Regions from separate parts of the Homo sapiens genome. Here all the other regions are linked to region 5. Evidence: promoter capture Hi-C in 16 types of primary human blood cells and fetal thymus (Javierre and others, 2016). All regions are on one chromosome and are shown on one strand. The core of a region is centred on a gene start or on the middle of the fragment in contact, and the rest is flanking DNA. Distances in the headings are between cores, read along the strand shown.

Region 1 (4,543 bases), core at 12-2,511, 330 kb before region 5:
TCTTCCCACTTTACAGCCAAGAACAACTGATACCTGTGTGTGTGTACTATTTTGTACTACAGCCCTCAGGCCCCCAACACTGTCCCAGGGCTACGCTGACAGATGGAAGACCCAGTGAGGATGTGGGGAGATTCTCAAGGCCCCTCTTCTTTTTTTTTTTTTTTTTTTTTTTTGAGACAGAGTTTCACTCTTGTTGCCCAGGCTGGAGTGCAATGGCGTGATCTTGGCTCACTGCAACCTCCGCTCCCTGGGCTCAAGTGATTCTCTTGCCTCAGCCTCCAGAGTAGCTGGGATTACAGGCGCCTGCCAACACACCCAGCTAATTTGTATTTTTAGTAGAAATGGGATTTCACCATGTTGGCCAGGCTGGTCTCGAACTCCAGACTGCAAGTGATCCACCCGCCTTGGCCTCCCAAAGTTCTGGGGTTACAGGCGTGAGCCACTGTACCCAGCCAAGGGCCCTCCTCTGCCAAAAACAGCAAGTGATCCCTTAGTCTCATGGGGGCAGTTTACTTCCCCGAGGCCAGGTGATTACCTGACCTGGCCCTTTCTAGGATATTTCTTCATTGATGGGAGTGACTCCTACCCACTTCAGAGCTGGGGACATGAGTTCAAGGATCAGAGGGAAAGCTGAGGGTTGTGGGAAGAGGGGATGGAGGCTGTGAAGGGAAACGTGTCATCCCTTCATATCCCCTCATCCCAGCATTGCTTTTACCCTAAGGAGCTGTCTCTCTCGGGTCTCTGAGAGGAGGCCCCCTCCCAACTAGAGACCATGGCTGTAAGGATACTGGATGGAAAACCCAAGCCCCAGATGGGAGAGCCGCTTGGGCTTTGCTAGGCTGCTTCCAAGTAGGGAAGCCCACATCTTGCTGCAGATCCCCTGACTGCAGACCCACATGTTTTTCTGTGGATGGCCCCAACTGTAGAGGAGCCCACTCCCTCTGTCCTGATAATAGGACTCTGAACCAAAGCAGTGAGGAGGTGGGTTCCACCCCAGCAGACAAGCATTCGCAGTGGTGGGATCTGATGCAAGTCACTGCCCTTCTTAGGGCCTCAGCCTCCTCCACTATAAGATGGGGATGGCAACCTGACAGTGCCGGTGGTTGTGAAGCTTCTCTAAAGGAACATGATAAAGCCCTCAGCTCAACATGGTAAGTGCTAGCTCACTCCAGTCCGTGTGACCTCGCCCAAAGCCAGAGGAGCCAGCGGGGAGGAATCGTGTAGGGAAAGAGTGAGAACGCAGCCAATCCTCCGCTCTGTGACCAACACTCAAGCCAATGAGGGAGCAGGAAGCTAAGCCAGCTTTATTTTAGGTCCCCTAGGAGGTAGTGGCACTAAAAATAGAAGCTCAGTGCTGGGATGACTAAGAAATGTCCAGGAAAATCTAAAGCAAGCAGGGGAGAAAGCTTGGATCCAGTCACGCCTGCCACACAGGAACACAAGGTGTGTCCTAGTTCATACTCTGCCAAGAAAGAAATCAACAAGTGGGGAAAGCACAGGACCATCATCTAGTCTTCACTGTGGTCTTGGTCACATTTCCAAGAGGTCAGACACTGGCTGTACTCACACACAAACTTAGAGGACCTAAGGCAGAGCACAGCTCCCACCTCTGGCATTTCTGCCCCGTCCACCTGGTACTTGCTATGCTTAGTCACTCAATGTGCCCTGACCCTGCTGCAGCTTCCAAGGTGCCATACCCACTGCCTAAGAGCTCTGAGGGTAGGGGAAAAGCTGGAGGAATGGATAAGGGCCACATCTCCTTCTACCCTTGGCTCAGAGCAAAGTTGGGCAGTCCTCAGAAAGGGTATGCCAACCAGAAGAAACAGCACCAGCAAATGTCCCGGGGCATGAAAAGGGTCTCGCTCTGTCCCCCAGGTCAGGGTACAGTGATGCCATCTCATCTCCCTGTAGCCTTGACCTCCAGGACTCAAGCAATCCTCCCACTTCAACCTCCCAAGGAGCTGAGACTCCAGGCAAGCACCACCACGTCTGGCTGCTTTTTGTGTTTTCTGTAGAGACCAGGCTTCACCATATTGCTCAGGCTGGTCTCAAACTCCTGAGCTCAAGTGATCCACCCAGCTTGGCCTCCCAAAGTGCTGGGATTACAGGCGTGCACCACCATAACTGGCCTGTGATAACTTTCTGATACAAAAACTCCTTGACTGAAGTGGTGGTGGAAGGAAATGGGGTGGAGGGATAAAGGAAGAGAAAGACCCTTTGGCCTGGTAGGGCAGAGAAGAGTGGGGAAGAGTAAGCTCTCTGAGGAATAGGACACATCAGGGGCTCCCAGAAAATGACAAGGAACCTTCAAAACTATGTGGGATTGAGGCCTGCTTCACTGTCTTGTGTTTATTTCCAAGTAGTGATCACAACAGCCACATAGTCAGAATCCACTGTCATCCAGTGATGTCGCTGGGTCTTGCCCTAAGCTCACCTGGTACATCAGTGCTGACACTGGGTCCTCTGGTCAAGGCCCGTCTCTTTTTTCTGCTAACTCTGCATCCCTGAGCTCTAAACCACAAAGCTGACCATGCTCCTCCCCTACAAACACCCTTGCTTTTGGCTTAAAGGCCAAACTCCCTAAGCTCCACAGGTGGCCATCCACCCTCATCCCCATCTCCCTAAGCCATTCCCTCCTACCTCGATCCAGCTACATACAGACACAACAGAACCTACCGAGAGCCTGCTCACCATGTTTTGTACACAGGAAAGTCCCCTCCTGCGATCCCCACCCTTCCCACGGGAGGCAACACTCTTGAGTCCAAAAAAAGAAGCAAGAGTGCAGAGCCCCCATCCTATCCCCATGCAACATGAGGGAGGGGTCCAGGCCAGGCTGGAAGATGTTCCCCAGAATAGCCAGCAAGCTCTGATCTTGTTTCTAACACATTTACTGTGCAAGTAACAGGCTGGAAACAAAAAAGCCCGGGCTCAGAGGCAGCCTCACATTAGACTGGGGACTGACCATCATGACAGCTTCTCCTACAGCTCTTGTGAGAGGGCCGCTGACCACACCATCTCCTGCTTCACCCCAACAGTCCGCAGGCTGAGGCCAGGCTCCTTGAGGAGCAGAAAAGACTCTGATGACCTCTCACCCACTGAACACCAGCCTTCACTGACCCTTAGGTCTCTGTGAGTGCAAAGACCCTCCAAGAATGTCTCAGCAACTGTGGCCCTCTCCCAACACATTTGCACAGAGGTAGAGATGCCCCAGCCTTGTGAATAATTTTCAACTGTTCAGCCATAGATCCCAGGTTAAAACCTCTGACCCAGGAGATCCCGTTAGACAACAGAAAAACTCCATTTTTATCTTCCAATTTTAAGTGTTTCCAAGAACAAAACTCAAAATAACTGTCTGGCTGTGAACACTTCATTTTCACTAATGCATATGAGGCACAGAAATGTGCAAAGAGCTTATGTGCACTTGTTTGTAACCACACCCTGTGAGTCAACCCCCTTGTTAGAGATGACCAAAAGGAGATTCAGCGAGGTTAGCCAACTCCAACTCGCTCTAGGTCAGCAGCTGATAGGTGGTGGAATTGGACTGACCAGATTTGGAGGCCTCTCCAGAGTCAGGACTTCTAGTGACAACGTGGGCCTGGAGACAAGAACAGACTACATCAGTGAGAGCACTCCTCTGAGCCTGGCTCTCTCAGAAAGGGGCAAGGCAGTCCTGAACCAGGGCTTCCACCTCCAAACAAAGGCCTCAGGCAGAAGAGTTCCACATCAAACCTAGAGTCCAAACAACAGGAGTTTTCATGGAGGATGATGTCAGCTTTCTCAAACCTTCGAGGTCACAACCCTGTTCTACCATCTCAGCAAAGCAGACAGAGCAGACAGAGATCCTAGCCTGAGGCAGGAGAGTGATCGAGAAGACGCTATCACTCCTTCCAGACTGGCACACAGAAAGATTCTCATGTGTCTGCTGAAGCCCACAGGGAATGCCAGCAGATTTGCATGGCCTACAGTGAGGGCCCCAAAATTGGTACCAGTCGTGGCTATCCTCCACACATGCTATCACGGAGGCCAAAAACACAGCCTTGAGGCACAGCCTGGAAAGGACTCCTCCAACAGGGAAACTGATAGCCAACATGGCTTAAACCCCTCAGGCCCAAGGCTGGGCATAGTAGCTCACATCTGTAATCTCAGCACTTTGGGAGGCCCACGCAGGAGGATCACTTGAGTCCAGGAGTTCCAGACCAGCCTCAGCAACAAAGCCCCATATCTACAAAAAATTTTAAAAATTAGCCGGGCATGGTGGTTCACTCCTTTAGTCTCAGCTACTCAGGAGGCTGAGGTGGGAAGATCACCTGAGCCTGGGAGGTCCAGGCTACAGTGAGCTGTGAACTTACCACTGCAATCCACCCTGAGTGACAGGGCAAGACTCTGCCTCAGAACAAACAAAAAGGCTGGGCATGATGGCTCACACCTGTAATTCCAGCACTTTGGGAGGCCAAGGTGGGCGGATCACAGGGTCAGGAGATCAAGACCATCCTGGCTAACATGGTGAAACCCCGTCTCTACTAAAAATACAAAAAATTAGCTG
Region 2 (4,480 bases), core at 964-3,463, 380 kb before region 5:
AATTAGATATCTGGGCATGGTGGCGCATGCCTGTAATCCCAGCTACTTGGGAGGCCGAGGCAGGAGAATCGCTTGAACCCAGGAGGCGTAGGTTGCAGTGAGCCAAGATCGCCCCATTGCACTCCAGCCTGGGCAACAAGAGCGAAACTCCATCTCAAAAAAAAAAAAATTCAGTTTCAGCTACAACTTCACGTGGTTCTCCAGAGCCTGCTATTAGGACAACTGAACTTCCCAAGTACCCTGCAGGGTCCTCTGACGGACCACAGCTATATATGAACCTGTCCCTCAGGCCATTGCCCCCAGGCCTGCCTCCTGCTTTCTCCCTCCTATACTTCTGTAGCTATCATTCCCTTTTTCTTGGTCTGACTCCTCACAGCCATGCTCCAAATTCCAGGTTCCCTCTTCTCTAAGACTGTCCCTCACCACCCCAGCCCACTTTTAAGGCACCTGCCTAAAAAACCTGCTCCTAAAGCATGTTCTTATAGGTCAGTGTTATCAACACCACCTGGTGTTTATTAGAAATGCAGACCCTCAGGCCCTACCTAGACCTATTAAATCAGAATCTACATTTTAACGAGATTCCAGGGGATGTGTATGAACATCAGGAGTCTGAGAAGTACCAGCCTCTGCCACTCCCTGGCAGGGCTCTGGTTTCTCTTTACTTTTCTGCATGGAGGTGAGGACAGACATCGCTAGAATGGGACCCAGCAATCACTCCTTCCAGCCACTCACTTCACAGCTAGACGGTCTCCTGGTAAGCAGAGGCAGCACCTCCTTCAAGCTCCTGCCAGCAACCTGGCATGCTTTTATAGCTCTATCCCAGAACACCAGGACAGGCTTTTTAAAAAAAAAAATTTTTTTTAAGACAGGGTCTTGGCCAGGTGTGGTGGCTCACATCTGTAACCCCAGCACTTTGGGAGGCCAAGGCAGGCAGATCACCTGAGGTCAGGAGTTTGAGACCAGCCTGGCCAACATGGTGAAACCCCATCTCTACTAAAAATACAAAACATTAGCCGTGCGTGGTGGCGCATGCCTGTAGTCCCAGCTACTCGGGAGGCTGAGGCGGGAGAATCACTTGAACCTGAGAGGCGGAAGCTGCAGTGAGCCAAGATCGCACCCCTGCACTCCAGCCTGGGTAACAGGGCAAGACTCCGTCTTCACACAGGCTGGAGTGCAGTGGCACATTCACAGCTCCCTGCAACCTTGAACTCCTGGGCTCAAGTGATCCTCCCACCTCAGCCTCCTGAGTAGCTGGGACTACAGGCATGTGCCCACACCTGGCTAAAAAAAATTTTTTTTAAGAGATGGGGTCTCGCTATGTTGCCCAGGCTGGTCTCAAACTCCTGGCTTCAGGTGATCCTCCTGCCTCAGCCTCCCAAACTGTGCTGAGATTACAAATGTGAGCCACCATGCCCAGCCTGGGAGAGGATTTCTTTTTTTTTGTTTCTTTTTTTGAGACAGAGTTTCGCTCTTGTTGCCCAGGCTGAAGTGCAATGGCACAATCTCGGCTCACTGCAACCTCTGCCTCATGGGTTCAAGTGATTCTCCTGCCTCAGCCTCCCGAGTAGCTGGGATTACAGGCATGTGCCACCACGCCCGGCTAATTTTGCATTTTTAGTAGAGACGGGGTTTCACCATGTTGGTCAGGCTGGTCTCGAACTCCCAACCTCAGGTGATCTGCCCACCTTGGCCTCCCAAAGTGCTGGGATTACAGGCGTGAGCCACCGTACCCGGCTGGGAGAGGATTTCTTATTGCCAGTTTATAGCCACAGATTGTGCCAACCTGATGGCCAATCCATATCTGAGAACCAAGTAAACATCAAGGCATTGCCCCAACGTTACTGAGGGGATCATCATCAGGATAAAGGGGCTTGTCTTTAAATTGTTCCCTCTATCACCACCTGTGCCTGCTCCTCTCACTCTTCCCAGTGCCTTCCATAGACACCAAAAGCTCACACTTGCCATGATGATGCTGGGAACCAAACCCAAAGCTTTATCTGAGCCTTGAGTCAAATCTAATTAGACTGGAATGGTCCCGAGTGTAACAGTTAATTCACTGTTGGGCACTCCTGACTTTTAACTGAGTATAAGGGACTATTCTCTGGCTTCCCAGGCTCTCATTCAGTACCAGTATGGTCCCATTTACTGCTCAGTGCTATAAGCATGTGACAGCCAGATTTTCTGCAGAACCCACCTGTCCACATAAAATCTGAGAATGACAGTGGGCCAGGACTGAGTTCTCCACAAGGCTGACCACTCTGCAGTAAGCATCTAGTGGTCTACAGTGGCCCCTTCACCCCTAGGCCCACAGATCCCAGTTACTGGTATAAATCTTCACCACCTGCCTGACTCCTACGCAACGATCTCCTAAGAGTGGTACAAACAGATACCCTCCCTTGTGCCTGTGACAGAGTCAGCCTCAGGAGGAAAGCTTCCCTCCCTTCCTTGTGCCACCTTTGAGAGGCATGACATGGGGATGCCCCTAGAGAATGCCAGCCCCCTCCCCAGCAGGAGGAAGTCCCCGATGGACCCCATAGCCACATCCAGAAGCTGTCAGGGAAGGTGATACAGCACAGGACCTCAAGTGCTAAAGGCAAAGTAAGTGGTGTGAGGCTGTTGGGTGACTCTTTTTTTTTGGGGGGGACAGAGTTTCACTCTTTTTGCCCAGGCTGGAGTGCAATGGCACAATCTTGGCTTACTGCAACCTCTGTCTACTGGGTTTAGGTGATTCTCTTGCCTCAGCCTCCCGAGTAGCTGGGATTATAGGTGCCCGCTGCCACACCCGGCTAATTTTGTGTTTTTAGTAAAGAGGAGGTTTCACCATGTTGGCCAGGCTGGTCTTGAACTCCTGACTTCCAGTAATCCACCTGTCTCGGCCTCCCAAAGTGCTGGGATTACAGGCGTGAGCCACCGCACCTGGCCAGCTGTTGGGTGACTCTTGAAGGAAATGCTGGCTGGGGCCAGAAAAGGCCCAGCCCACACCCCTGGGAGGAAAGCTGGGCCACAGAAGGAAGCTGCTTCCAGAGCTCCTTCCCCTCCACAGAAGATTTACAAGAGGCATGGATAGCACCTCAGCAGGTCCATATCTGAAGGAAACACCCTATGGGGAGCCCCCTAGAAGAGGGGGTTCTCACTGCCTTGGCAAAATCTTGTCATCCTGCCAAGCTCACCTCCCTCCCACATAAAGCCGACACAGACTCTCTTCTTCACAGCCTTCCCAGCACACCACTAGGCTCCAGCTGCCATGCTTGCTGCTTCCTGCAGTCAGCCTTGTCTTTTACCCAGTCAGCATCCTTCCTAAGGACCAACCAGCCCTCACTTTTTCTGTACCTTCCATCAGCTCCCAACAGTGCTGAAACCTCACACATTTTTGGAGGCATCAGGACTATCAATGGATCCAAAGACACAAACTGACAGCCTGGCGGTTGAATGTGACCTGCAGGTTAGTGTTTGCTGGCGCACAAGAAGCTGCTTAAATATGTGAATCAGAATATTCTAACATTTTAAGATTAGATTTTCTGGCCAGGTGCAGTGGCTCACGCCTGTAATCCCAGCACTTTGGGAGGCCAAGGCCGGCGGATGACCTGAGGTCTGGAGTTCGAGACCAGGCTGGCCAACGTCGCGAAACCTCATCTCTACTAAAAATACAAAAATTAGCTGGGGGAGGTGATGCGGGCCTGTAATCCCAGGTCTGTAATCCCAGCCACTTGGGAGGCTGAGGCAGGAGAATCACTTGGACCCATGAGGTGGAGACTGCAATGAGCCAAGATTGTGCCACTGAACTCCAGCCTGGGCAACAGAGCAAGACTCCATCTCAAAAAATAAAAGATCAGATTTTCTGGTTTCTCTTCTAAAAAAAAATCAGATCTGGACACACGAGGTCCTCATTGTGTGGTGAAACTGGACAGTGATGAGAAGCTGCTCTCTGAGATGGGCATGTTCAGTCTAGCTTGGCTGGGGCCCCACAGAGCAGATGCTGGGAAGGCCCTGCCCACATCCTCTCAGCCCACCCCCTGAGCTCATCTGCAGCTGTGGCACACTGCTTGGTGCCTGGCAACAGCTTCCCACCGCCAGTGCCTGCATCTCTCTGCTTCTCTGCCTGAAGACTTTCTCTAGCACTAGTTGGTATCAGGACAGCCCAGAAGCACCAGAGATTTAGTGTCCTCAAAGAAATTCTCAACCCATGAAGTACAGGAGTCAGTGGATTAAAAAAAAAACAAAACAAAAAGAAACTCACGTTCCTGCTCTTTGGTGGTACAACTATGAGGCACATTCCACATGGTTATTACCAAGGTTCCCAGTGGCCCACAGTGGCAGTCCATTTCTCAATATACTCTACTGACTTTCTCCCTTCCTGCCTCACTTTTCCCACTCCTTCACTTTTAGTTACTCAAATCACATCCCAAATAAACTATCTGCTCCCAAGTCCTTGTCTCAGGGCTCACCTTGAGGGAACCCAAACTACATTCTGATAGTCTCA
Region 3 (4,267 bases), core at 415-2,914, 290 kb before region 5:
GGTACCGCAGCTCATTCAGGTCTGCGATGAGGATCTTACAGGCATCTCGCTCACTGAGGTAGTGCAGGTACTCCTCAGCCAAGTTCTTCCTCAGTTTGGTCACCTGGCAAGAAGGTGGCTGTGTGGTCAGGGGCTGCCCCTGGACCCCTGTATGCAGCTGGTCACCCCAGGGAGTGGGCTGGGTTCTGGGGGGCCCCATCAGGGACTGTGAACAGGAAAGGTGAAAGAAGAAGGAGATTGGCCATTTCTGAGAATTCGGCAAGGTGCCAATGTTTCCCCCTGTGGGGAAAGTACTGAGCCTAGCAGCAGGGCAGAGGGTGGAGTTAGCAAGGCTCTGGGGGAAGGTGGTGGCTCAGTGTGTCACTCTCCGTAGAAAGGCAGAGCAGGGTAGGGGGTCACCCTTGTCGTGGAGTTGGCAGGAATTCGGGGACTTGGTCATCATCACACCACTTCCATTCACCTCGCTCTGCAATGAAATCTTCTCCTCATTCTTTTTGTCGATGAGTTTTAGCAAGTTCATCTTCTCTTTCTTGAGCAGGGAGATTTCATATTTCTCCTCAGCTCTCATGGCCAGGATCCTCTCATTGCAGTCCTCATTCACAGTGACAAGCTTGGCCTTCAGGGGCTCCAGAGCCCGAATCTTCTCCCTTTGGTGGGCTAAGCAGAGACAGGTGGGAGAGCTGCTTTGGGGCCATGGAGAACAAACAGCCAGAAGACACCCTAAGGTCATGGGTGAGTGGCTATGTCGCTTGCAAACCCCAAGAATCTCTGCATGCCTTGTTCAAAGCCATGGTCCCTGTTTCAGGCCTTCCTGCACTTGATTTTAAACAAAGGGCAGAGTTCAGATGAAGACCGGGGTCTCTCCTATGTCCTTTCCCCTACAGCCTTAAGTCCTGCAGCTGCACCATGCCCTGCACCTCCTGAGCCTGGCAGGGGAGCCTGCTGACTCCCAGAGGTGCTGACTCTCTCCTGGGGTTCACTCCATTTTCAACAGGGACTGCCCCCCTGTGCTTCTCAATGACAGGTGTTGTCAGGTGCTCTGGGGTGCCCTATCATGGAACAGTCTGTGCAGAATGGCTGAGGGGCCTTGGTGACCTCAAGGCCCAGTTGGTAGCTGCCCCAGCCCTGCTGTGGAGCACCAGAAGGTCGAATAGGATCTTCTCCACCCCTTCCAGGCTGGGACAAGGAGGGGAGCTGCATTCTTTTTTTTTTTTTTTTTTTGCGATGGAGTCTTGTTCTTTTGCCCAGGCTGGAGTGCGGTGGTGTGATCTCAACTCACTGCAACCTCCACCTCCTAGGTTCAAGCAATTCTCCTGCCTCAGTCTCCCAAGTAGCTGGGATTACAGGTGTGTGCCACCATGCGCAGCTAATTTTTTTGTGTTTTTACTAGAGACAGGGTTTCACCATGTTGGCCAGGCTGGTCTCAAACTCCTGACCTCAAGTGATCTACCGCCTCGGCCTCCTAAAGTGCTGGGATTACAGGCGTGAGCCACTACGCCTGGCAGGAGGTGCATTCTTACCCAGCATCCCCTCATACGCATTCTTGATGGAGGATAGTAATGGCTTGTACGTTTTGAAGTCCTCTATGAAGAACTCAAAGATCTCTCTGTAAGGCTGGCAAGAAAAGGGAACCCATCATCTCCTAGCCCACAGCTGCCAACCTTAGTGGGGAACTGTTTTTCTTTTTCTTTTTTCCTGAGACGGAGTGTCGCTCCATCACCCAGGCTGGAGTGCTGTGGTGCAATCTCAGCTCACTGCAACCTCTGCCTCCCAGGTTCAAGTGATTCTCCTGCCTCAGCCTCCTGAGTAGCTGGGATTACAGGCACGCGCCACCACACCTGGCTAATTTTTGTATTTTTAGTAGAGATGAGGTTTCACCATGTTGGCCTGGATGGTCTCGATCTCCTGACCTCGTGATCCACCCACCTCGGCCTCCCAGAGTGCTGGGATTACAGGTGTGAGCCACTGTGCCTGGCACTGTTTTTTTCTTTACTGGGCTTAGCAGTATTCCAGCATGAGGCTGCCAGGTCACTTATATTCAAGTAAATGCCCTAGATACCACCCGGGTACCTCACAGTGCCACGGAGCCTGGGGGGCAGCTCTCTGGAGGCCTGTCCTGATGCTGTCTCTGAGGCCTAGTGGACTGCCATGACCATAGACAGACATCCACTCTGTGCCTGAGCCCCTCTCTGGCTCTCCAGGCAGCCAGCCTCTTGCCTTCTAGACACTGCATCATTGGCCTCTCACTTGTAACCTCTCCCCATCTTAGAGCCTGGTAGATTCAGGAGATTGAAGGTTGTACCCTTGCATCCTGACATGCAAGTAGGGGTGTGGTCTTCTGTCCCATTTGGACACATGGGAGGTTTCTGGAGGCAGCATTGCTCACTGAAATGAGCACAGTCTCCAGAGTCAGCCCTGAGTTTGAAGCCCAGCCCCACTACGCCATAGTGGTATGCTTTCTTCCTTATCTGTTCAGGAGATCGATGTAAGGCCCCAGCCCAGGGCCTTGCACTTGCACATAGCCAGTGCTCAGTAAATGCTTTAGTCAATGACTAAGTCAAAAGGCAGGGATTCTCTGTCATCATCCTTGTTTAAGCAGATTTGGTGATTCTCTCCCTACTATACACTGGTATCTGGGTTGGATCTGATCTCTCTCTCTCTCTCTCTCTCTCTTCCTCCCTCCCTCCTTATGCATCTGTGCTGGTTCCTTAAGCTTGGGGTTGTTGCCACTGGACTGGTAAACACGGTGTGACCCCTGCTTGCCCAACTGCCAGCATTCAGGCTACGTTCACTGATGTCCAGTGGCCCAACCTGGGTACTGGGGATCACAGAGCTGCAGGGACTGGGCACAGCATCCAGGCCACCTGACTCAGGTGAGGAAACTCCAGCCTCAGGAGACTTTTGGATCCACATTGCAGCCTTGCCTGCTCACTGGCGTTTTCTTTTTTTTTTTTTTTTTTTGAGATGGAGTCTCACTCTGTTGCCCAGGCTGGAGTGCAGTGGCGTGAACTTGGCTCACTGCAAGCTCCGCCTCCCAGGTTCATGCCATTCTCCTGCCTCAGCCTCCCGAGCAGCTGGGACTACAGGTGCCTGCCACCACACCTGGCTAATTTTTTTGTATTTTTAGTAGAGACGGGGTTTCACCATGTTAGCCAGGATGGTCTCGATCTCCTGACCTGGTGATCCGCCTGCCTCGGCCTCCCAAACTGCTGGGATTACAGGTGTGAGCCACCGTGCCTGGCCTTCTTTTTTCTGTTGACAGAGTCTCACTCTGTTGCCCAGGCTGTAGTGCAGTGGCATGATCTCGGCTCACTGCAACCTCTGCCGCCTGGGTTCAAGCAATTCTCCTGCCTCAGCCTCCTGAGTAGCTGGGACTACAGGTGTGTACCACCACTGCAGGTTTTGTATTTTTAGTAGAGGCAGGGTTTCACCATGTTGACCAGGCTGGTCTTGAACTCCTGACCTCAAGCGATCCTCCTGCCTCAGCCTCCCGAAGTGCTGGGATTACAGGCATGAGCCACTGTGCCCGGCCTCACTGGCATTTTCATGGGATGTTTCATGCTTCTGTTCAGGGAAGGAGACCCAGGAGAGCTGGGAGAGGTGGGTCTCCCCTGAAGGTCTGAGGTGCTCAGTCCTTGTAGGTGAGGCTTTTTTTTGTTTTTGAGACGGAGTCTCACTCTTGTCGCCCAGGTTGGAGTGCAGTGGTGTGATCTTGTCTCACTGCAACCGCTGCCTCCCGGGTTCAGGGTTCAAGCGATTCTCCTGCCTCAGCCTCCTGAGTAGCTGGGACTACAGGTGCCCACTACCATGCCTGGCTAATTTTTGTACTTTTAGTAGAGACGGGGTTTCGCCATGTTGGCCAGGCTGGTCTTGAACTCCTGACCTCAGGTGGTCCACCCGCCTTGGCCTCCCAAAGTGCTGAGATTACAGGCGTGAGCCACTGTGCCCGGCCGGTAGGTGAAGCTTCTTCCCACCCTTCCCCCGCCCTCCCCAAGTTTCTTCTGTGGCTCTGACCTGCAGCCTTAGTTCCTGGGTGGAATCTGTGCCCAGGTCCAGCAGGAGGAGCTCCTTGCGTAGGTAGTTTTCCAGTTCCTCCAAGTACTGGGGCTTGGCAGTGCGAAAGGGGTGCTGCTGGCAGCTCCTGCAGGGGACAGTGGCTGATATGTGGCCAGCACCCCCACGGGGCCCTTGTGCCCTCAGTCTGGGGCAACACACGCCCCTGCCCTGTCTCCTGGCCCAAAGCCTGGCCCATGCCAGCTCACCCACC
Region 4 (3,998 bases), core at 1,301-3,800, 270 kb before region 5:
CAGCTACCTTGGAAAGGCTTTCCTCATCAGACTTTAGGTTTGGTGTCTGAAGTTTGCCAACCCCTCTGGTGACCATGCCAACGCTGAGGGTGTGTTCTCGAACATTCAGAACTTCTTTCTCCTAGGGACTGTCCCCTTTGTAGTGCATGCAAAATGCTTGGCCAAGGGACTAGGCTGGGGGCAACACTGCCAGAGTCAGAGCCTTGCCTACTTCCTCAGTGATGTAACTTCTCTGCCTGAGAGGTCTCTGTGGTCTTGGGTAGATGTTGGAGCTTCAGTCTCCTGATCTGCACTGTGAGGATCCAGGCCAGCATCTAAGCTGCCTGAACTCCAGAATTCTATGCCTCTGAAATTCTGATCATGGGAAGCTGCTGTATCTTTCTCTCTCTCTCTCTTTTTTTTTTTTTTTTTTTTTAATGAGATGGGGTCTTGCTCTGTCTCCCACGCTGAAGTGCAGTGGCAAGATCACAATCACAGCTCACTGCAGCCTCGACCTTCTGGGCTCGAGTTATCCTCCCACCTCAGCCTCCTGAGTAACTGGGAATACAGGTGCATGCCACCACGCCTGGCTAATTTTTTTTTTTTTTTTTTTTTTGAGACGGAGTTTTGCTCCTGTTGCCCAGGCTGGAGTGCAATGGCGCAATCTCAGCTCACCACAACCTCCGCCTCCCAGGTTCAAGTAATTCTCCTGCCTCAGCCTCCTGAGTAGCTGGGCTTACAGGCATGTGCCACCACACCAGGCTAATTTTGTATTTTTAGTAGAGATGGGGTTTCTCCATGTTGGTCAGGCTGGTCTCAAACTCCTGACCTCAGGTGATTCGCCTGCCTTGGCCTCCCAAAGTGCTGGGATTACAGGTGTGGGCCACCGCACCCAGCCTAATTTTTTAAATTATTTGTAGAGATGAGGTCTTGCTATGTTGCCCAGGCTGGTCTCTAGTGATCCTCCCACCTTGGCCTCTCAAACTGCTGGGACTACAGGCATGAGCTACTGCACCCGGCCATCTTTCATTTTTATCCCCATCTAGTGCGTTTACAGACAGGAAAGTTAAATTTATGGGAGGGCTTCAAAGCTCCTATTTTCACCTTCCACCGTCTGATAGAAGCACATATATTTAGTGTGCTTGAACTAGTGTGAATGAGAATAGCCCCTTAAAACAAGCACCTTGAAAATAATGTTGACTAAAATGGTGGTGCTGGAGTCTCATACTGCCACAGAAACTGAAGTGCACTTCTTAAATTTGTAGGGAGGAAAATGGATTGTTTTCTCCTAGTCTTTATCATAGATAACAGCTGAGTTAGTTATCTAGGTAGAGAGCAGAGACCAACTTCAGAAGGGAAGTGTTTACACTTAGAGACCTGGATTCTTTTTTTCTTTTTGTATTTTTTGAGAGATGAGGTCTGGCTATGTTGGAGATCTGGATTCTTTCAACTGGTTTTAACATTTCAGTTTTAGTCGATCTTGCTGTGTCATGTTAGATTGGTGAACTATAGGTGTTGACTGGAAGTCTAAAGAAAGGTGGGCATCTATTCCCAGCATTTTACATGTGGTAAACATGGCTGTTGAGCTGATCTGGAAACATCAGATGTTAATTAATTAATTTATTTATTTGCCACACAGTCTCCTTTATCATCCAGGCTGGAGTGCATTGACTCAATCTCGGCTCATTGCAACCTCTACTTTCTGGGTTCAAGTGATTCTCCTGCCTCAGCCTCCCGAGTAGCTGGGATTACAGGCATACGCCACCACGCCTGGCTAATTTTTGTATTTTTAGTAGAGATGGGGTTTCGCCATGTTGGCCAGGCTGGTTTCGAACTCCTGACCTCAGGTGATTCACCTGCGTCAGTCTCCCAAAGTGCTAAGATTACAGGCATGAGCCATGGTGCCCAGCAAGGAAACATCAGTTTTAGAAAGGTCTCAGGTCATGTATACCTGTGGTATCCTGCTTCAGTTGACCACTGTCAGATGGCAAGAGTATGAATAGCTCCTCATGGTCTCTTTATGGAATCCCTGAAAGCCTTCCCATGGCTGGGATGCAGCCACATGTTAGTATGGGCCAGGTGGGTTTTGAGGAGGCCAAAGGCAGTTACACAGGGCAGGCAGACATCAACTGGCTCATTTCCCTTTTTTTGTAGATTTTTTTTTTTTTTTTTGAGGCAGGGTCTCGCTCTGTTGCTCAGGCTGGAGTGCAATGGCATGATCACAGCTCACCGCCACCTCAACTTCCTGGGCTCAGTCAATCCTCCCACCTCAGCTTCCTGAGTAGCTGGGACTATAGGTGTGTGCCATCATGCTTGGCTCATTTTCTTATTTTTTGTAGAGATGGGGTCTCACAATGTTTCCTAGGCTGGTCTTGAATTCCTGGGCTCAAGTATTTCTTCCACCTCAGCCTTCCAAAGTGCTGGGATTATAGTCATGAGCCACCATGCCCAGCTGATTTTTTTTTTAACTATTTTATAGAGATGGGATCTTGCTGTGTTGTCTAGGCTGGTCTCCAACTCCTAGCCTCAAGTGATCCTCCTGCCTCAAAGTGATCCAAAGTGCTGGGATTGCAGGCAGGAGCCACCATTGTCAGCCTCCCATGGATTTTGGAGGTGTGTTTTTTATCCTGGTTTAGTCCATGACCCAAGCATTAACTGGTTGTCTAGCTTTCCTGTGTTACCTAGTTTGATCCTCACAGCATCTCTGGCAAGTGGCTAGAGCAGGTGATCATCTACCTTCCCATTTTGTGAGTGAGCCCTGAGTCCCTGGGATGTTTGGTGGCCTACCCTGGCTGCAGGGCTTAGGGTGTGCAGTGGAGTAGCCTGACTTATCAGATGTCCTCGCCTGATCCTAGACACACATGTCCATGCTGCTGCTGCCTTTCCCCATTGTAGCTGTTGCATTTCTTCCCTGGGTAGAGTGAAGGAATGTTCTGTTGGATTCCTACCAGATTGCAATGTTAGGGGACAGAGCTGAAAGGTGCATGGTGCTGTGTAGGGCCAGAGAATTGTGGCATGCTCTGGGCCGGGCTTGATCAACTTACTGTTCCATTTAATCTGTAAACTTGCTTTTCTGTAGATTTGAGTACACCTCCTTTGTAAAAGGTATTTATAAACCCAGTTGTTAGTGTCATTGTTCTCCAGAACGTCCTTTGTTTTGACAATATCTTTTGGAGAAGAACACACTAAGCTAGTCTAATAAGGAAAGTTTCATGTCAAGATTTCACAGAATATTTATATATACCTACTATGTTCCAGGCCCTATACTAGGTATAGGGAGAACAGATGTAAAGCCAGCACAGATCAGCTTTGTCCTCAGGAAGCCTGTGGCCCATTCAGTAGAGAGTGGACTGAAAGTCTTTCTGCAAGAGGAGGCAGAGCCTGGGAACAGTTGGGAGGAATGAGTAGGAGTTCCCCAGTAGGCGAGACCTGTTAGACCTATGAGTCTGATGGGTAACTAGCTTGACTTCTGGGTGCTAGGCTTTCTGGGCACTCCTCAAGTATAAGAGAGCTCTGTGGAGTAGGAGGGGCTGTGTTTGAGCTAAGAGCTTGGCACAGACTGATGGGCTTCAACTGCATTTTGCCGAGTCACCAGAGCTGTGAACTCGGGGAGCGGGTCTGGTGGGGTGAGGAGACATCAGAGCACTGCCAGTGGTGCCAGGAGATAAGGGGCATCCAGGTCTGTCTTTCTAGGAAGCGAAGGAGGGCCTGAAGCTGAGGGTCCCTGGGGAGGAGCAATGTCTGCAGGCAGAGTTCATGGACCTGTGGGTGTCCCTGGCTCTTAGTGATGACACATGGAGGGTGTGGCTGGCTAGGCTGACAGATGCTCCAGTGTGACCCTCAAAATAGACTGTAACATCATCCCAGCGGCGGAGGCCTCCTGACATGTGATGGTTGCTTTACCCAAGAGTAGTAGGCCTGGGCTAGAGCACTGGAAGGCATGGAGAGGGGTGGGGGCATTTTCCTCTGTAGCCAGTGTCTGGGCCCAGGCCCAGAGCAGGGGTCTCTGACCACAGCCA
Region 5 (4,219 bases), core at 1,704-4,203:
CACTCTTGTCCCAGGGAGAAAGCCCAGACTCTCTAACATGACCCACGTAGGCCCTTCAGGATTTGTCCTGTCCCTCACATTCTTTCAACCACTCCTCTCCTCCCAGTCCCCTGCTTTCTCTGTTCCAGCAACTGAGACCCTCTCTCAATACCTGCAAGGTTCTTCAGAATCTGACCGGCAGCCCCCATCGCTCCTATTCCTTCTTCCCACTACTCAGCCCCAAGTCCCTCTCCTTCCTCAAGTCTACCCTATGACTTCTTCCTCCAGGAAGCAGGCCCTGGGTTGGTTCCCCCTTTTTGACTTCCTCCCTCTGAACCCCGAGACCACATAACCCAGTTGTCAGTTCTCCTTTAGGGCCTGTCTTCCCACCAGACTGAACCTTGTGAGACCTGGGGCATATCTGCTTGGCTCACCACAGCGCTCTGGGGGTCCTGTAGCACCTGGGAGATGAAGGGGGGGAACAGTGGGGGAAGCTGGGCTGCCTAGACACAGGAACAGCAGGTCCTGAGCTGTTTGTTGGTGGGGAGGATTTTAAGTCTATGTCCACCCCAACTCCCCTACCCGACATGCAATCCTCCCTCTCCCTTCCCACTGGCTGATGGTATCGTATACCATCAGCAAGTGGGGCTCTGCTCCCTGGGATGGTGCAGGGTGGGGATCCCCTGGGATTCTGGACTTGGAAACCGCTGACTGTTCCATCACTTTTCTCTCTCTGGTTGGCCCTCTGCTGCCACCATCCCCCGAGTCCCATAGGAACTAGGATGTCTAACTGTTGGTACAAATGACCATCATAATGTCCATCTGAGTGACCGCTTCGGGAGATGGGCGGGCAAGATTGCCCTTGCTGGGTGAGAGCAGGTAGGGAAAGAGCTGAACCCCTTGAGCTAAGGCAGAAGGGCCACCTCAACTGGTGGGGGACTGGCTGATAAGAACCAGGGGACTCTCTGGGCTCATGTCAGCCCTATAGTCTGTTCCCAGGATGGGAAATAACCCAGATCCAAGGTTCCAAAGGTTATGGGGCTTGCAGCACAGCCAGGTCAGGATGGCCGTGAGTGGAGGAGCCCTGACCTGTCCGCATGGCCCCAGATCTTGCAGCCCCGCTATACTTCCTACACACCAAGACTGGCACACCCGGGTGCGGCGGAATATCCCACCACCTGGGCTGCCCATCTCAGCACTGTGCCAGGCCAGCTGCCTCTCTGGGAGTCCCCGGGTCTAGCCCCGCCCCACCCCGGGGCCGCCCCGACCGAGGTAAACAGAGGCTAAAAATAACCTGGGCAAGGGGCGGCTGCAAGGGAGAAGGGGGTCCCTTCTGAGCCTGTCCTTGTCTCCATGGCAACTGCCCCCAAACCCGGCGGCTGACGTCATCTCGCAGCTGCCCAAGCGTATAGGAGGGAGGGGGAGCGGCACAGCCCCGGACCCCCCACCCCGGAACCGGGCGGAGGCTGTCGGGTGGCCTCACTTCCTGCCGGCCCCCTCCCTGGTCAGCTGGTTACATTCCCTGGCCGCGCGCTGGGAGCCAGGCGGCCTCCCCCGGGCCGGGCCTGGCCAGGGCTGAGTCCGAGCGGCGACGCAGAGGGGCCGCCGTGACTCACCCGCGCCCTCCCCGCCCGCTTCTCTCAAGCGGGACCCAGCCCAGAGTCCTGAGTCCTCCCCTCACCCGCACCCAAACCCAGACCCCTGGGGCGGCTCACCTTGCTCCTCTCTCCCGCCGCAGTCACAGGACCCAAGCCGGAGAGGGCGGTGGAAGAAGGAGCTATGCCAGTCCTCCTTGTCCCGCTGGAGTATTTTGTACCTCAGCCCCCAATTATCATTCCTCTCCTCCCTCCAATACCACGGAGGTGGGTGTCGCAGGGGCAAGGACTCAGATCTAATCCTCGCTTCTCCCAAACCAGCTGTGTGACCTTGAGAATACTACTAACCTCTCTGGGCCTGTTTCTGCATCTGCCAGATGGTCATAACCCTCCTCAGATGCTGTGCGTTGGCCGAATGCGGCAGGCCCAGGGCGCGGCCCCGCAGACTGCAGCCAGGGCACAAGTATTGTTACACGAGGCTGCGCACAGTAGGTGCTGGGGCGGCCAGCCTGGACACACGTTAGAACTGGCTGGGGAGGGTCTGTAGGGGAGGCCGGACTCAGGGCTCACCCTGGAGAGGAGGACAAAGGGTGCTGAATCTGGACTGAATCCGACCTCTAGCCCTGGTGAGCAGCCCCTTGCCCAAACCAGTTCTGCAGAGAGCCCAGGCCCGGCTGTTGCAGGAACCTTGCGCCAACCTCCATTTCCAGGGAAAAGCTCCGTTCCCCGACAAGGACGATCCTCTCCGGCTTCGGCTACGCCAGGTTTGGGCGGAGAGCCCGGCTCCAGCCCAGGCTCGGTCACCTCGGGGCCGGCCACAAAGCCGCTTAGGCCGGCCCCTAGAGCTAGGAGGATTAGCTCAGCTCCTAGGCCGGCCCGCACCCTTCGTCGCCCCCTCCCCATTTCCAGCCCAGCCTCCCCTGCGGCGAAGGCAGCAAGGGCTCCCAGGGAGCGCGCGTGCCAGGGCCCAGGCTGGCGCCTTGAGCCCGCTCTCTGGCCTGGCCCATCCCAGCGCCCCGGGGCACCGGCCGCCAGGGCCTTGCCGTGGGAGGAAGGCAGCAGCGCCAGGCTCTGCAGGCCCGGAGGCGGCGGCTTTTGTGGGAGAAGCTGCGTTCTCCACGCCCGGGGGGAGGGGAGGAAAGACAAGGCGCGGCCGGGGTCCGGGAGATGGGGTGAGGCGGGACAGAGCCGCAGATCCCGGACCCACCGGGCGGCGCCGGCGGGGGGGCACCAGAACCTCCGCGCCTGCTCCCCGCCCGGCCTGCAGCCCCGGAAACGGCGCGGGACACTCACATGGCTGCGCTGGGCTGCGCGGACCTCGCGCTGTCCTTGCGCTCGGAGGTGCCCGGCCTGGTCGCGCCGCAGCTGCCGCTGTCGCCGCCGCAGGCGCCGGCCCCTCCCTCCGCCCGCCGCCCCGCCGCCCCTCCCCTGGCCCGCCGGGCCCCACCCCCTGCGCTCCCGCGGCTCCCGCACCCCTAGAGGCGCCCACGGCTCGCTCCGCCCTCTCGGATAACGGGGCAGGCCGGTGGCCCACGCAGCCCACCAGCTTGCAGGGAGGGCAGACCCTGGGGGATGTGAGGGAGGCTTTCTCACGCAGACCCTAAAACGGTGAGCGCCAGGGAGCCCCGCCTGCTTGTCCCCTCCCCAGATCCCTCGGGCTCTGGAGACCTTGCGGGCCCCCTGTCCGTGACCACCTGAAACAGGTCCTGGAGCTGCTACTGCTGGCTTAGGCTGGTTGGTGGAAAGGATCCAGGGCTGTTGTGAAGGCCTTGGGGAGTCCAGAAGCCGCCTGGCACCTTCTGGGTCCAGACGCTGCCCTTCAGCCCTGCCATTTCAGCCAGCCTCAGCGTCGCTGTAGAGGCAGGCCGCCCTTTCTGCCACTGTCTGGCTGGTAAGTCCAGGCTCATAGCCGGGTCATGCATTCCCCACTCATTGGGTACTGGTTTTCGGGCAGTCTTGGGGTGGGGACGCTGGCAGGGTCCGGGTACAGGGCCATGTGTTGGGCAACCCAGTCCTTTCCAAAGCCGGGGCTAGAATGCTGGCCCTCCACACAGTCGGTAAAGGTGGGGCTGAGAGTCGACCCCATGTTGGGGTCAAAGGGCCAGTTCCACTCCCCCGCTCCTCCCATCAATCAGACACCCCTGGCCCTTCCAACCTGGACACCCCTGAGGCTTCTCCAGGCCTTGCACTCCCGCAGCCCTCATGTATGTCAGACCTACCCAGGAATGGTTTCAGGGACAGTAAGAGGTCCCTGAATATCTGTACCCCGCCCCCACCAGTCCTGAGGGCTGTTTTTTTGTGTGTTTTGCTTGTTTGCTTGGTTTTGTTTGGTCGGGTTTTTTTTTTTTTTTTTTGAGACAGAGTGTCACTGTCGCCCAGGCTGGAATGCAGTGCAAGCTCCACCTCCCAGGTTCATGCCATTCTCCTGCCTCAGCCTCCCGAGTAGCTGGGACTACAGGCGCCCACACCACGCCCGGCTAATTTTTTGTATTTTTGGTAGAGATGGGGTTTCACCATGTTAGCCAGGATGGTCTCGATCTCCTGACCTCGTGATCTGCCCGCCTTGGCCTCCCAAAGTGCTGGGATTACAGGCATGAGCCACCGCGCCCAGCCTGTTTGGTCGGTTTTTTAGAGATGGGCTTTCT
Region 6 (4,392 bases), core at 303-2,802, 280 kb after region 5:
CAGGGCGGCGCGCAGCATCCTGCCGCCTGCCCAGCCGCCCTCCCGGCACCGCACGGCCGCCGGCCCCGCGTCGCCGCCGCCACCTACCGGGCGCCCCCGCGTCACAGGCACGTGGGGCCCGCTCCCCCCAATCCCGGCTCCGATACCCCCAAGCCAGGTCCAGGCTCCGAGACCCTGCCTCGGACTCTCGTAGTCGGGGACTCTCTCCTCTTTCCTCCCTAAATCAGTCCCAGCTCCGGAAATTCCCCAGTGCAGCTCTCCCCCAAGTTCCACAACCTACTCCTTCGAGTCCGCGCCCCCAAACCTCCCCAAAACCGCCCCCACCAGATCCAGAGCGGTGCGCGGCCACGGCCCCCCTGGGGCAGCCCGCAGCGGGAAGGGCGGGGGTCTGCGGGGGGCGCGGTCAGGACGGGAGGGGCACGGCTCCTCCTCGGCCAGCGCTGCTGTGCGGCGAGCAGCACCCCCCTGGGACCAAGGCGCGGCCGGGTGCAAAACGCAGGGGACCGTGCTTGGCCGCCCTCCGCCCACGTTGCCAAGCCCAGGACCCCCTGCCGGCCCCCACCCGGACCTGAGCTGCGCACGCGCACTGGACGCTCCCCAAAGCAGTGACGGACAACGCTGCCCCCAACGTCCCAGAAACCCTAAGGCCCAGACTGGCCCAGCTCGTGCCAGGCGAAGAGGGAGGCTGTTCTTCATCTCCCAAACCAAGGGGCACCTGGCCCTCCCTTTCAGTCACACTACAGAGAACTGTCTCATCTCTTTGATGAAGCTGACAGGAACCTATGGAAAACCCAGCCTACTGATTCCCTTCAAACTAGGCGAGATGCACCCAACTTTTTCCAAATCTGAGGGGCATTCGGCTCATAGCGCCCCAAACAGAGGAGGACCGTCTCCACTTTTCATTCAGGCTGAGGGGCACCCATCCCACTTTTTCTCCAAAACTGAGGGGAACGTGTTCTATCTGCCCCCTCAAACTGACTCCTCCCAATCTTTTCCCAGAAAACTGAAGGGCATCCTTCCCTCTTCCTCCCACAACTAAAGGGAACTGATCCCACCTCTTCCTTCAAACTGGGTGGAATTTATTCTCACTTCTTGCTCCAAATTGAAGGGACCCCCTCTCACTGCTTTCCCTAAATGAGGAAACCACAGGGACTCACCCCTCAAATGGAAGGAATGAGGGCTATCTTGTCCCTCAACTGAGAGAGACCTGGCCGGCCACTATCTAAAGAAACTTCTGCCCCATCTGCCCTAACACCCCTCAAAGAGAACGCAGCCTCACTATCCCCAGACCAAAGAAAGCCTCCCCGCCTTCTGCGCGTTCTCGAAGGTGGGGCGCGAGCTCGGTTTTTCCCGCCCTCCTAGCCAGTGAACTAACGGGATTCCCATTGGGCCCTGTGAGTGGCTAGCGGCGGCCCCGCCTCCGGCAGTGGTTACCTCCTGGCGCGCACTCGGGGACTAATCTTGGCTCCACCCCCTTCCTCGGCCCCGCCTCCGTCTGGCCCCGCCCCTCCAGCCGCGTCCGGTCCGGCCGGGCCCGAACCGCGGAGCTACAGTGTGCTTTGAGTAGAAGCTGCACTGGGGCCGGGACTCGGAGGCGCGCTGCGTGAGCCGGCCGCAGAGCCATGGCGGGCGGGGAAGACCGCGGGGACGGAGAGCCGGTATCAGTGGTGACCGTGAGGGTGCAGTACCTGGAAGACACCGACCCCTTCGCATGTGCCAACTTTCCGGAGCCGCGCCGGGCCCCCACCTGCAGCCTGGACGGGGCGCTGCCCTTGGGCGCGCAGATACCCGCGGTGCACCGCCTGCTGGGAGCGCCGCTCAAGGTGAGGGAGGCCGGAGAAAGGTTGGGGCGATCGGGGGTTCAGGGTGGGCGCCATGAAAACTGGTGGGAGGTGCTCCGCGGGAAGAGGCTGGAGCGAGTGTTCTTCTCCGGAAAAGTCTTGGGCTGGGGTCCCAGGGTCCACTCTGCCCCGCCTGCGGGGGAGTCCCCTCTCAAGTTGAGGGGAAACTGAAGAGGGGTGCCAGGAACTTGGCTCCGCCATTCTGACTGCCCTTCGAATTAGGCGCACCTGGGGAGGTGCTCGAGTTCCACTCGCCGTCGGTCTGCCAGGGTGGCTTCCCTGGTCAGAGTGACGGTAGCCGCTTGGGCTGTAGCGGACCCTGGAGGCGGAGCTGGGGAGGGACCAGCTTCCACCTGCTTCAGGTGAGGTGGGGGCGGGACCACGAGGAGGGGCGGGCCCGAGGCGGACTACTAGAGGTGGCAGAGGTTTCCTGCGGTGTCAGGAAGCTGGATTGGGGCTTGACCCTGTAGGTCAATGGGAGTATGGGAGTGCCGGCCGAGGAGAGACTTCACGGGGTGAGGGGAGTCCCCGCGAAGCGGTCTGGCCCGGGATCCGCAGAGCGCAGGAGGCTGCACGGGTGTAAAAGCCCTTTGAGTCACCGCTCCCGCCCCCACCCCCGGACACTCGCCGCCCATCGGCCCGCGCCTGAAAGTGAGAGGGAGGGCCGGACTAATTTTAAACAGCCGGCCTGCCCTACTTTGCTGCCGCCCCGAAGCGGACTTGTGCACAGTGCGGAAAGAGGCCCTTTTCCAGATGGCCAGCCTACCTCCTCTCCCCTCCCTCTCGCCGCCGTCAGCCCCCCGCAGGCAGCCCTTTCCGGCGCGCTGTTTCCGGGCCAGGACTCTGGGAGGCGCACTACCACCTCCACAAGCTCCCCACCAGCCCGGCCGCCTCCAGTGCTGGAGAAGAGGAGAGAGAGTCGGGGTGGGTGCCCTCCCCTGCTCCCAGCCTCAGCTGGGCGGCGAGTTGCGTAAACTTGCCCCTTGGGCCTGGGGTCTTCCCTGGAATGTGCCCCGGGCCCCCAGCCCGCATTCCTCGCGCTGCGGCCAGCCCCGCCTCTGAGCGCTGGCGGGAGGGGTGGTGAGACTATTGGCCTGGAGAGTGGCACGTGTCCAGGCCAGAACCCCGGCTTCAAGGCCATGGCTGGAAGGATGCAGGACACTGCTCACCGCCAGTTTTGACTCAGCCCCCGCTTCTCTTGCCCTATTCAGAGGGGCAAATTGAGGTGTGCCTGGAAGAAGCGTGTGCAGCTGGAGGCCACCTCCCATTCAGGATGGGGGCTGGGAAGACAGGAGTGCTGAACTAAGACTGGTTCCCGCTTCCAGGCTCCTAAAGTCCGGATCCTGAAATAAGGGTGGGGCACTAGAGAATATATTGTATTCCTCTCATCCTGCAACTCAAGGATTGGACCTAGCCCTGACACCACCCCCCCGATTTTTTTTTTTTTAAGACGGATTCTGGCTCTGTCTCCCAGGCTGGAGTACAGTGGGGCTATCTTGGCTCACTGCAACCTCCACCTCCCGGGTTCTAGCAATTCTCGTGCCTCAGCCTTCCAAATAGCTGGGATTACAGGTGTGCGCCACCATACTCAGGTAATTTTTGTATTTTTAGTAGGGACAGGGTTTCTCCGTGTTGGCCAGCCTGGTCTCAAACTCCTGACCTCAGGTGATCTGCCTGCCTAAGCCTCCCAAAGTGCTGGGATTAAGGCTTGAGCCACCATGCCCAGCCCCTTGACACACCTCTTCCCAGCTGGGGGCAAGCCTGGGAAGTCAGCTGCAAGAAAGAGGCTCAGAACCACTCCTTCTATCTCCCTCTCATGGGACCCGTGTCCCCACCCAACCCTACCAGGTGCTCTGCCCTGTGTTCCCTGCTCCTTAGCTGAGGACACTACTGAGCTCCGGTGAAGAATATAAGTTCCTCATCCCCAATGCAGTCCTTCCTGGTCTCCCCGATTTCATGTTCTCCCACCTGGAGTACCTGAGGACTGCCTTCCCTCCCCCACAGGGATATGGAGGTGGCACACTAGGTTACCACAATGCCAGAAGCCAGGATTCCCTGGGGCTAGCAACTCTGCCAGGAATGGTCAGATGCACTGTGATGTGCTCAACCCAAATATAAACTATGACCACAGCCCCAGAATAGAAGGCTGGAGGAAGAGGGGCTGAGAATAGGGCAGAGACAGGGACATCAGAGAGCTGAGCAAGGGGGAGCAGGGCCCCTCCTTGCAGGAAATGTCAACAGCTGGTTCCTCCCGTAGTCCTATAAGTGGGTGCCCCAGAGTCACAGACATGACTCAGGCCTGTCTTGCTGGCCCTCTAGAGGGAAGAGGTGGCCCAGAAACCAGGGCATCCCTGTCCCAAGCTGTAGGGCAGAAATAAGAGGAAGGGGTTCTTTACTCATTGCTTCGTCCTATGTACAGTTGTCCAGCAGAGGACAGGACACAGCCAAGTGGCCTCTGTCCTCCTCTGGGTACTGGCCCCGGGTACTGGCCCTGATCATCCCAGCAGATGACCCCCCTCCCTGGGGATGTACAGAGGCCAGCCTGCTTTCT

What was found. Contacts are between HindIII fragments. The CHiCAGO score rates a contact against its expected background, and 5 or more counts as called.
Region 1: a contact is called between a fragment that was not itself captured here and the fragment with the promoter of RIPOR1 in region 5, in 1 of 17 cell types (endothelial precursors). The highest score is 5.7, in endothelial precursors.
Region 2: a fragment that was not itself captured here is called in contact with the fragment with the promoter of RIPOR1 in region 5 in 2 of 17 cell types (naive CD4 T cells and endothelial precursors); the score reaches 6.7 in naive CD4 T cells.
Region 3: a fragment that was not itself captured here is called in contact with the fragment with the promoter of RIPOR1 in region 5 in 1 of 17 cell types (endothelial precursors); the score reaches 5.7 in endothelial precursors.
Region 4: a contact is called between a fragment that was not itself captured here and the fragment with the promoter of RIPOR1 in region 5, in 3 of 17 cell types (erythroblasts, endothelial precursors and M2 macrophages). The highest score is 5.3, in erythroblasts.
Region 6: the fragment with the promoter of FHOD1 here is called in contact with the fragment with the promoter of RIPOR1 in region 5 in 1 of 17 cell types (endothelial precursors); the score reaches 7.0 in endothelial precursors.

The regions. Positions count from the first base shown.
Region 1 is chr16:67,860,140-67,864,682 of GRCh38, reverse strand. The region is part of intron 1 of NUTF2 (nuclear transport factor 2); the gene reads right to left. Among named protein-coding and RNA genes, the nearest start is that of EDC4, 11 kb to the left of the region's middle. The HindIII fragment of the contact is 295 bases long and covers 1,114-1,408 here.
Region 2 is chr16:67,909,843-67,914,322 of GRCh38, reverse strand. The region is part of intron 2 of PSKH1 (protein serine kinase H1); the gene reads right to left. Among named protein-coding and RNA genes, the nearest start is that of PSKH1, 19 kb to the right of the region's middle. RefSeq lists a silencer at 3,881-4,093. The HindIII fragment of the contact is 440 bases long and covers 1,994-2,433 here.
Region 3 is chr16:67,820,973-67,825,239 of GRCh38, reverse strand. TSNAXIP1 (translin associated factor X interacting protein 1) reads right to left here. Exons shown (of 16, transcript NM_001288990.3): 4 at 4,015-4,141; 5 at 1,521-1,614; 6 at 461-657; 7 at 1-103. Among named protein-coding and RNA genes, the nearest start is that of TSNAXIP1, 16 kb to the right of the region's middle. The HindIII fragment of the contact is 2,103 bases long and covers 613-2,715 here.
Region 4 is chr16:67,800,248-67,804,245 of GRCh38, reverse strand. All of the region lies in intron 2 of RANBP10 (RAN binding protein 10), which reads left to right. Among named protein-coding and RNA genes, the nearest start is that of RANBP10, 4.3 kb to the left of the region's middle. RefSeq lists an enhancer at 2,018-2,097. The HindIII fragment of the contact is 6,576 bases long and covers 1-3,998 here.
Region 5 is chr16:67,527,563-67,531,781 of GRCh38, reverse strand. It overlaps RIPOR1 (RHO family interacting cell polarization regulator 1), which reads right to left and starts at 2,953. Exons shown (of 22, transcript NM_024519.4): 1 at 2,868-2,953. It overlaps LOC100505942 (a long non-coding RNA gene), which reads left to right and starts at 3,037. Exons shown (of 2, transcript NR_104656.1): 1 at 3,037-3,465. RefSeq lists silencers at 1,347-1,626, 2,627-2,856, 2,887-2,996. The HindIII fragment of the contact is 8,124 bases long and covers 1-4,219 here.
Region 6 is chr16:67,244,641-67,249,032 of GRCh38, reverse strand. FHOD1 (formin homology 2 domain containing 1) reads left to right here and starts at 1,552. Exons shown (of 22, transcript NM_013241.3): 1 at 1,552-1,823. The coding sequence starts at 1,623. It overlaps SLC9A5 (solute carrier family 9 member A5), which reads right to left and starts at 54. Exons shown (of 16, transcript NM_004594.3): 1 at 1-54. The coding sequence starts at 18. RefSeq lists silencers at 1-102, 403-492, 513-602, 1,245-1,614, 2,515-2,614 and enhancers at 1-317, 2,718-3,377, 4,150-4,199, 4,310-4,359. The HindIII fragment of the contact is 13,502 bases long and covers 1-4,392 here.